2 separate regions of the Homo sapiens genome follow, and region 2 is linked to region 1. The links are contacts of gene promoters, found by promoter capture Hi-C in blood cells and fetal thymus (Javierre and others, 2016). All regions are on one chromosome and are shown on one strand. Each heading gives the region's core, a stretch centred on a gene start or on the middle of the fragment in contact. The rest is flanking DNA. Distances are from core to core; before and after follow the strand shown.

What was found. Contacts are between HindIII fragments. The CHiCAGO score rates a contact against its expected background, and 5 or more counts as called.
Region 2: a contact is called between a fragment that was not itself captured here and the fragment with the promoter of CCNA1 in region 1, in 2 of 17 cell types (M0 macrophages and M1 macrophages). The highest score is 5.2, in M0 macrophages.

The regions. Positions count from the first base shown.
Region 1 is chr13:36,429,886-36,434,862 of GRCh38, reverse strand. It overlaps CCNA1 (cyclin A1), which reads right to left and starts at 2,368. Exons shown (of 9, transcript NM_001413923.1): 1 at 2,134-2,368; 2 at 1,642-1,830. The coding sequence starts at 1,806. RefSeq lists silencers at 2,475-2,634, 2,665-2,714, 2,995-3,064. The HindIII fragment of the contact is 15,627 bases long and covers 457-4,977 here.
Region 2 is chr13:35,992,409-35,997,331 of GRCh38, reverse strand. All of the region lies in intron 3 of DCLK1 (doublecortin like kinase 1), which reads left to right. Among named protein-coding and RNA genes, the nearest start is that of DCLK1, 140 kb to the left of the region's middle. RefSeq lists an enhancer at 3,349-3,850. The HindIII fragment of the contact is 1,132 bases long and covers 2,972-4,103 here.

The DNA.
Region 1 (4,977 bases), core at 1,119-3,618:
CACGAGTATATTGTACGCATGGCGCGGGGGGGGGGGCACCTCTCATGACAGCAGGGACATAGCAGTCACATAACAGGATGTAGATGGCAGATTATATGGCACACAGGGACATGTGGAGATTCTCTTCTGCTTGCTTCTATATTTTTAGGAAAATAAGATACAAAGTGATCAGCTGAGACTGGGCATGAAGGAGGAGGTTACTGAGGATTAAACAGAGAAGGGAAGGTACAAAATAGATTTCTAAGCAGGTTGTAGAGGATAGGTACAGGGAAATGCAGAAGTGGCACCAGGTAACATAAGAGGTTAGCAACTGGGAATTTAAAATGCGACCATTCAACACAGGCACAACTGACAATTCATAAGAACCAAGTCTCAGGCGTTAAGTTTTAAAAAGCAAACATTGCTAAGCAAATTAAAATTTGTTAAAACCACTTCCACTCAATTTTCTCCAAAGCTTTGAACAGAGCATGTGAAGAGTCAGTAGATGAGAGGCTTCTAATCTAGTTTCTACCATAGCTTTCTTTTGGCAGAGGCTTAAACCTTTCAGATTTTCTCACTTATGAAATAGGAAAGGTATAGTTTTCAGTCTGGTTAAGGTATCTATGATCAGTTAAGTTCACACAACTAATATCTGAGGGACCATTACCTGTTAGCATAGCTGCTTAGTCAGTACTGGGAAGATGTCTGCCTTCAAAGCACCCATTTTGGAGTAATCTAATCTAGCCTGATCTAATCCTGATTTTAACACTATCCGCAATGAACACAGCCAAGATTATCCAGGTTTGCTTTAGGCACAGCCTGCATCAATGTGAACACTGCTCTAACCTGGAGGAACCCCAGTTCCACAGTTTATTTGGAAGCATTCACATTTCCTTTTAGCCCAGCCCTTAAATTACTTTAATATACATAACCCAAACAGTTCCTAGACCTATTTCCTTGATAGTGGAAAAAATAACAAAGAAAACTAATCACTATTTCTAGCTGAAAACCGAACCCCTCAAGGTGATCTTAAGAAATCAACTGGCCTGCCACCGTGGCTGACGCCTGTAATCCCAACACTTTGGGAGGCCGAGGTGGGCGGGTCACCTGAGGTCAGGAGTTGGTGACCAGCCTGGCCAACATGGTGAAATCCCATCTCTACTAAAAACACAAAAATTAGCCGGGCGTGGTGGTGGGTGCCTGAAATCCCAGCTACTCGGGAGGCTGAGGCAGGAGAATCGCTTGAACCCGGGAGGTGGAGGTTGCAGTGAGCCGAGATCGCGTCACTGCACTCCAGCCTGGCGACAAGAGCGAAACTCCGTCTCAAAAAAAAAAAAAGAAGGAAAGGAAAGGAAAGAAAAAAAAAGGAAAGGAAGAAGGAAGAGAAACAAAGAAAAAGAAAGAAGGAAAGAAAGAGAAAGAAAAGAAAGAAAGAAAGAACGAAAGAAAGAAAGAAAGAAAGAAAGAAAGAAAGAAAGAAAGAAAGAAAGAAAGAAAGAAAGAAAGAAAGAAAATAAATCAATCAACTTTCCTGTAGTCCAGATTCCAGGGTTGTAATACTCAGGGGGAGTTGTAGGTACAAGGGCAAGAGAAAAGCACCTGGCACCAAAGCAGGAGAGCTGTTCTCCACAAGCATCATTCTCAATGCGTCTGAGTCATTACCTGGCCACAGGTCCTCCTGTACTGCCCATTTGCAGTTAGCAGCCCTAGCACTGTCCTCTGCGGGGGATCCTGGCCCAGCGGGGCTCTGGTGAGTATCTGACAAGCATCGGGACCTCGGGCCACTGTAGCCAGCACAACTCCACTCTTGGGGTTGCTGCAGTGCATTGCTTCAGACTCCACGGGCTGCTGCTACCAGGGAAAGAGAAACAGACAAGCTGTTTAGTCGATTCCGTCCACCCCGGGCTCCAAGGACACAGCGAACCTCTAGGAGGGAGAGCACCAAGCAATGGGACTAACACCAATTGCTGATCTTCCCAGTAATTATTGGGGCTGAAAGGGCAGGTGCGACCGCACAGGCGATCAAAGTTGCTCTGAATCAAAACAGTTATTTGAATCCCTGAGGGAGGCTTTTTATCCCAAGACTTCGTGTTGGGCTGGAAGGAGAGAAACATTCTGACAAGCCTCCAAGTCGGGATACTAAACCCACGTTACCTGGAAGACGAAATCTGGGAGCCCCGGTCCTTCCCAGCTGAGATACTCTTCTCCCCAGCCCCCAATAAAAGATCCAGGGTACATGATTGCGGGAAAGCCGGTCTCCATCCCAAGTGACGAGCAGGGTGCTGCGCTGCGGCCTCCTCCCACCAGACAGGAGGCCCCAAAACCTGCCTGGACCCCAAAGCGGGCCCCGCTCTTCCCGTCGTTATCTTTCTATGTGTCCGGAACAACTGGCAAGTGCACTGGAGGATCGCGGTTAAGAGGTGGCCGGCTGGGCGGGGCAGGGCGGGGCAGGGTTGGGCAGGGCCGGGCCGGGCCGGGCGGGGCAGGGCGGGGAAGGGCAGGGAAGGGCAGGGCACGGAAGGGCGGGGCGGGAAGGACCAAGTGTCGAGGGATTCCAGCCTGGGAGGCGGCCGGGCTTAGCGATGCGGCTGAGCTGCCCACCCGCGTCTGTTGAATCGGCCAATCAGCGGCGCCCCCGGACCTAGCGGGAGCGTTTCCATGCCGACCGCGGCAGGCGTGCGCTCTCCGGGGCCGCATCGCCATGGCGACCTGCTCACCTGACTCGCTCCGGGTGGACTCGCCGCGACCCCTGGGCGTTCAGGCCCCTGAGGGCCCAACGGGCGACGGCCCTCCAGCTCCAGCTGTGCGTCTCCGCCCGGGCGAGGTGGGGCTGACCGCGGCCGTCTGCACACGTCCCCTCTGGTCCGCGCCCCCGGCCTGGGAGGGCGGACTCGCCCACCCCACGATGGCCCCGGCTTTGGAAGGGACTGTTTCCGTGACCCGTTCTCCCAACAGCCGCTAACAACCCCCTCTAACGTCTCCTGCGCGGCCCGCTCCTGAGAACCCTGGCTCGGGAGAGCGACGCGGGGTCCTCGGGGCTGCGCAGGCTGCGGCGCCCTGCCCACGCTGGCCCGAGGGCGCGGCTCGCTCCGGGTCGGCTCACACACCTACGCTTCCTGCCGGGAGGCGGCTGGGACGCGGCGGGGCTGCCCCAAGTGCAGTCGCGGCAGTGTTGCGTCTCCATCGCGGGGGTCCTTGCGGGCCGCGCCTGCCCCGCCCGGCTCCCGGTGCATGTGGCCTGCGAGGCGGCAGAGGAGATGTGGGGATTTAGGGTCGCACGTCGTGCTCGAGGTCCCCACGAGAGGTCTTCCCCCGCGGGCTCCTGCGCAACTGCGTGAAGCCGGCCCGGGAAAGCCAAGATTGTGGCCCAGGAAGAGGAAGGAACGCGGGCGACAGAGCTGGGGCTTGGGACGTTGAGGGGGTCGGTGGCAGCTCTCCGGGCTGGGGGCCGGGCGGGCGGCCCGGCCGCGTGGGGAGAGGAGTCCCTGGGGTCCTTATACGGGGGGCTCCTGGAAACCCGGGGGCTCAGACGCCTGCATAGGTGACTGACAAGCCAGGTGAAATAATCGAACTTTATTTTTTTAAAAATAATATGTATATATGCACACACACATTACCAATGCTATAGTCTGTTACTACTTTTGCTTTTTTTAAAACATCCATCCCTAAATCTCTAAATCAGATCCAAAGTCTATTCAAATGGCCACTTTATGCAAGCAACGGTTATCACCGTTTTTCTAAGTGTGCGTTATTAACATTTTCACCAAGCAAACTGAGTGTGGACATTGCTTTAATGGGAAGATAGTAGTATTCTAACAAAAGCGCCGGTTGAAAGCCTTGCAGTTGAGGTAAATATTAAGAAGTTGGTAAGCATCTGGAGAATCAAGGCTGGATGAGGGAGGAACGCAGAAACGGATCTTGTTCAACATGAAACTCATTTCTATACGTTTGTCACAGACTTCTATTCCTTGAGAGACAGCAGTCCGCTTGCACCCCAGATTTCCTGTGCCTTTGAATATGAAGGAAACACGGGAATTCTGGTAACATCTAGATTGCCGCAACAGAGAGTCAGAGGCCAACGGGGACCAAATGCTCTGCTTCGAAAGGTGAATGAAAGGAGCATTTCTGTCCTCTTGCCTGACGCCACTATTGGATATCTTCCCGGGCGCCCTCCCCCACCTGCCAACAGTGTTGTTATTTCCTGGGTCGCTGAAGGACTCAGTGGCTAACTCCGTCTGGGACTCTACAGCAAGTCCTGCCAAGAGCCTGAGTCGCTTGGGAGCGGACAAGATTGGCTGCGCTCACGAGACCTGGTCCTTTGTACACCCCTTTTCATCTGATTTCCTTTGACAAAAATGACCGAAACCTCACGCCCTTTTCCTTTTCTCCAAAGTAGAGGCGCCGGCGCAGTGTTTGTTCGTGGAACCTGTCGTTTTGATCCACTTTTCTGGGATTGAAGCTGAAGCCAGTGTTGGAGTCGGGGCGTGCAGGGAGTGGGGAGCGCCCAACTCCTGCAGAGGCGGATCTGAGGCTGGTTTTTCTCAACTCAGATCTGGCCAGGACCAGATGACAAGGCTACAAAGGTGTCCAGTGACTTTCAGCCGTCTTTAGCCTTAAAAAAGCCTTAAGAAATAATAGTAACCAAATGAGACCTTCGGATAATTTAATACCCCTCCCCTTATCTGAATGGCTGCACCTTAATCCAGCCTTAATCTATATGAAATAGGATTATCATGAACATCTTTTTTCCTGTTCCATCCACTTTGCTAAACTTGGCAAAGGGAAGTGGTTAGTTTATGATTGTTTTATTGTGCTGTCTTAGAATTCTACATTGTCGTTACAAGCCTCTGGTCATATCTTAAACAGGAGAGTGAGTCCCATGAACTGATATCTATGTGTGCATGTAAATTCAGGTACGTGTATAACTTGTGCAATACTTATGGCTTTCTTGGCTTTAAAAAATATCTACACTGAGGCCGGGCACGGTGGCGTACGCCT
Region 2 (4,923 bases), core at 2,288-4,787, 440 kb after region 1:
TAATCATATCTGCCTAGGTTTTAGTTGGATTGGGGCCTATCTTCATTAGTAATAAATCTCATATTTCCTCATCATTAAAAAGAACTTGATCCAGACAATACATGCTCATGTTCAGTGGAGAAGATCACGAGATTATCCAAAGTGGGCTAGCCTTGGCTTTGCATTTGTGTATGGATGAGGCTGATATTGGATTTAATTTCAAACCACAAGGTGTAGCCCCAAGAGAAAGGAGCCATTCTGGAAACTAATTGGCTTTTTCCATCCTACCTTCAACTCAAACATCATTAAACTCTGTTTCTAGCAGGAGGAGACTGTTCCTGCATGCAGATGTAGGGAAGTGGTTAAGGGGCTTTAAAGGGCTTCACTGCATGTAAAATAAATAACACAGGAATCAGAGTGTTAAAAATAGAAGCTCTGAGTAAATAGCTATAGCTTTGTGGCCAACAGGTCGAATGCTCACTCTCAGTATTAAATGGGCAAAAATAAAGTTATGCTGTCCATATGGATGAAAGCAAAGCATGTATAAAAGATGATGCACAGAGTGGATAATACCCTTCAGATAAGTGGTGTATTAATCAGGGTTCTCCATAGAAACAGAACCAATAGGTTGTGTGTATATATATATATGGAAAGAGATTTGTTTTAAGGAACTCACGTGAACATCGAGACAGGCAAGTTCAAAATACTCAGGGAGGGCTGGCAAGCTGGAGACTCAGGAAGAGCTGATGTTGCAGTTCAAATCTGCTAGAATGGCCTCCTGCTTGTGGAGGTCAGCCTTTTGTTCTATTCAAGCTGTCAACCAATAGATGAGGCCCACCTGCATTACAGAGGGCAGTCTGCTTTGCTCAAATTTAGCAATTTAAATGTTAATCTCATCTAAAAACACCCTCAAAGAAATGTGCAGAATAGTGCTTGACTACATACCTGGGCCCCGTGGCCCAGCCAAGTTGACACATAAAATTGACCACCTCAAGTGGGAATGGGCATTGCACATGGTGCTGTTTGCAATACCAGCACACTGAAGCGAATGATGAAGACGGGAGGCCTTAATCTATCTCTCCTTCTTAAAGCACTGATGATTTTATTTACAACTAAAATAGGTTGGCAGGGTGCAGTGGCTTACGCCTAGAATCTTAGCATTTTGGGAGGCCGAGGCGGGTAGATCCCCTGAGGTCAGGAGTTTGCAACCAGCATGACCAACATGGTGAAGCCCCGTCTCTACTAAAAATACAAAAATTAACTGGGCGTGGTGGTGGGCACCTGTAATCCCAGATGCTTGGGAGGCTGAGGCAGGAGAATCACTTGAACCTGGGAGGCGGAGATTGCATAATATTTAACTCCAGCCTGGGCAACAAGAGTGAATGAAACTCCATCTCAAAAAATTAAAAAAAAGAAATAATAAAATTAAAATAGATGAAAATATTGTTGGCCTTAAGTAAAGCCTAATATAGAAGATATTTTAGGAAAACTGTTGTAATCTTATTGCTTATGTTTGTAACATTTCTGCTAGATTTGCATTTATAAGAACAGCCAGGAAACAAAGATTTATGGTAAAAACGTGTGATCTCACGTACGTGGGTTAGTTTATCTTTTTTGAGGTTGTCTCTCACAGCCTGCTGCTAAAAATAAGCAGTCTTCTATTATTTGCTCACCTGTGATTTAGTCAGAAAAGCCAGTGTATTCTAATGAGTTGGGAAGAGGTGAAATTTCCATTCAGAATGGTAATTTTCTGTTAATCATCATTGAAACTGAAGAGCCTCCCAGATTGTTCCTCAACATTTGAATTGGCCTCAGTAAAAATGAAAGAAGACAAAGGAACATTTATATGAAAGTAAAATGTTCTTATTCTTTCTGGTTTTGCTAATAAAACTACCAGATTGGTTTCCTTGTCTTTGTCCTCTGATCTGTTTACATTCCTTTTATTATATTTTGGTGTGGCCCATTAAAAATATTGCCCCATACTAACTAGTATATTGAAAACGGATAGAATTAGATTTCGTAATAAAGTGAACTTAGTTCACTCAAATGTTAAGTCATTTCCTCCACTGAATCCTTGTAGACACAGGCATTTGGATTGTATCTTTACAATATGATATTGGAAAAGATGAGGGAATATTGGTAATTTGAGGTGAAAAAGAAAACTCTTATAATTGAATGTGGATGCTTTGTCTCTTCTTGGAGCAGAGGTTTAAGAAAGAAAAGGAAGAAACTCCACCACTACAAAGCTACCTTGGAGAACACTTAGACAAAAATTTCTCAGAGCATATGCTATTTGGTGAAAATTCACAAATTGCTCTTCATAGCTTTCTGAATTTGTGTCATATCTGCATTTTAAAATTGAATGTGCTGCAGTTCCAACCTGTATGCTTTTGAATGAACCTTAATGATGGGCCATTTCTTATTGCCGTCATCTGTGCCTTTCATTGCTGATTTATGTCAACTTCCTTTAAATGCATTGTGGTATTTAGGCAGTGGATAAGATAGTAATGCCATCGCATGCTGGTTGCTTAATGATGCAATTGCTTGAAAATTTAAAGCCCATAATAGCTTTAGGTCAGGTTCAGAAGTTCATGTTCCATGCCAGACATTTGAAGACTGAATCAGAGCCCGAGCACTGCCAAAATCATGCCACATTTGTCAAGCCTGGCCTTGGGTAAAAGCTGTTGGAAGCCGCCCATTCATCCAAGCCAATCACTGATAATGAAGCTTGAGGGAACATGAAATATCTTTTCTAAAAAGAACAGACAACCTCACCAGTTGGCTGCCTTTTTTTTATTTTTAGTATAATTACCAGGGGCAAACTGTCTTGCAGAATTGCTATCTTATATTAGCTTTGAGTTTGTGTTCTTGAGACCTGATGCAAGGATGTTTTATTAGCTAAGAATATGTGGTTTGAGGTCAGCTGAACATGATTCTTTCAGGTTTTTCTTGTGGGCTGTAATGTGATTGACTATTCTGTGGTGTGGAAGCTTACAGCTAGAAAAGAAACTTCAGGAGAACCACTTTCCTGTTTTCACGCTTATATTTTATCTGACTAATTCGCTTGGCTCCTGCCACAAACATCCATCAGTGAACAGACTTCTGCTACAGGGAAAGTTCTAGAAGAGCTGCCCACCTGGAACACTTCAGTCAAGCCTGAAGCTGGAATTGTAAAGTGTGACTGATTCCAAAATCACCATGCCCCAACCTACTCCTGCTAAATGTTAGATTTTTTTTTTTTTTTGGAAGCTGCATGTTACTTTTCCCCTTTTCTTTTTTTCAAAGGGCTCATAGTATTGGTTCCAGTATCTCAAAAGGATGTTTTGCAGATGAGAGAAAAGTACTTGAAAGAGTCTGAAACGCTGGAAGGACTAGAGATGTTAACTGGTCACTTTCCCTCACTCCTGCCTTTCATATTCCACACTCAGGTCTTTAAAGACTTTGGCTTTGAAGAGAGGAAATGAAATATGGGAGCCTCAAGGCTGATACTTATCCTAGCTTTTTTTTTTTTTTCTCATGAGTGTTCAGAGAAAGGAATTGAATTTGAATTCTCTGAAGCACCATATGATAGGTAGTTCTGATTAAGTTGTGGCTAGATGTCTTTGATGATGTTATTACCATCATCAAAAAAATGTTAACTAATTCCTCATGTATGTAAATCTTTGTAATTCAGAACACACTCACTTTACCTGATTCTCACAACCACTTGGTAATGAAGGCACGGCAGGTACTGGTTTCATCCTCATCCCCCAATGTGTAGATGCGGAAACTGAGGATGAGAGGTAAACCTTTCCCCAAGTTTCACAGATAGTAAGTGGCAAGTCTAAGACAAATCATGCTACGTCCAGTGCTTTTCCTGTATTTTATGCTGCCTCCTGCCTTCTGTCAGCAGATTTTGGTGGCTGTTGGAGGAAAGAAAATTATAAGAAAAATTATAAGAAAAGATCCTTGCTCTTGATGAGTTTAAGGTCTACCTGGAGAGACAGAACTGAGGCATGAAAGAGACAAAGAAGAATGCAAGGTAGGCTGTGCTAAGTGTTCAGTCAGTAGTTTTGAGGTTACTTGTTGCTGGAGCGTCATGTAGGAGAGGTGATTGATCGAAGGCAGGGACAGCAGAGAAAGCTTTCGGGAGGAAGTGAGAGTTGAGTTGGTCTTGAAAGGAGAGTAGGTCTTAGATAAAAGAGAGCAGAGCAGCTTGAGCAACTGTATCACAGAAGCAGATGCATATGACAGTGCGTAGGAGGCTGAGCAAGCAATTGTGCTGGACCCACATATTACATCAGGGAGACATTGCAGGCAAGGCTGCAGAAACAGCAAAAGGACCAGGATGTGAAAATCTTGAATGCCTGAATTTGGATTTAATCCATTAAATAAGGAGAAGATATCCAGGGCTTCAGAGCAGTAGCTTCATGTGTATAATCGATTAGAGACTGGAGATCACTGATGGGGGAGTAGTATATCAGTGCAGTTCATAAAGGTGGTAGAATTAAAATAAAGGAATGAATGACCAGGTCACACAAAGGAAAAAGGATCAGGATTTTCAGGGGAAAGAGGAGAAATAGAGTGATCATAAAATGTATTGTCCAACCTAGGACATTTTCCAAGACAAATGCTACACTGGTCAGGACAGTGGGAAAACAGGCACAAACTGGGACTTTCCTAGGCAAATTGAACATATGATCATACTGGTCAACAATGATGCTGGGGTTTTGAGACTGGGGCATTTGTGGTCATTGATAGAAGGAAAATCAGCAAGGCCAGTGATCTTGGATTTTAAGCTTCAAGATGACTGCAGTAAGTCAGGAGTAGATTTCCAGTGCAAAGTTAGAAATGCACAAAACTTGTCTGTATAACCCTTTGTTTCACCTTTCACTCCTCTTTTAAGCCCCCAACATTAAAAAAAAAAAAAGCACTTTCTTTTGAAGGAAGCAAACAAAGTAAGGA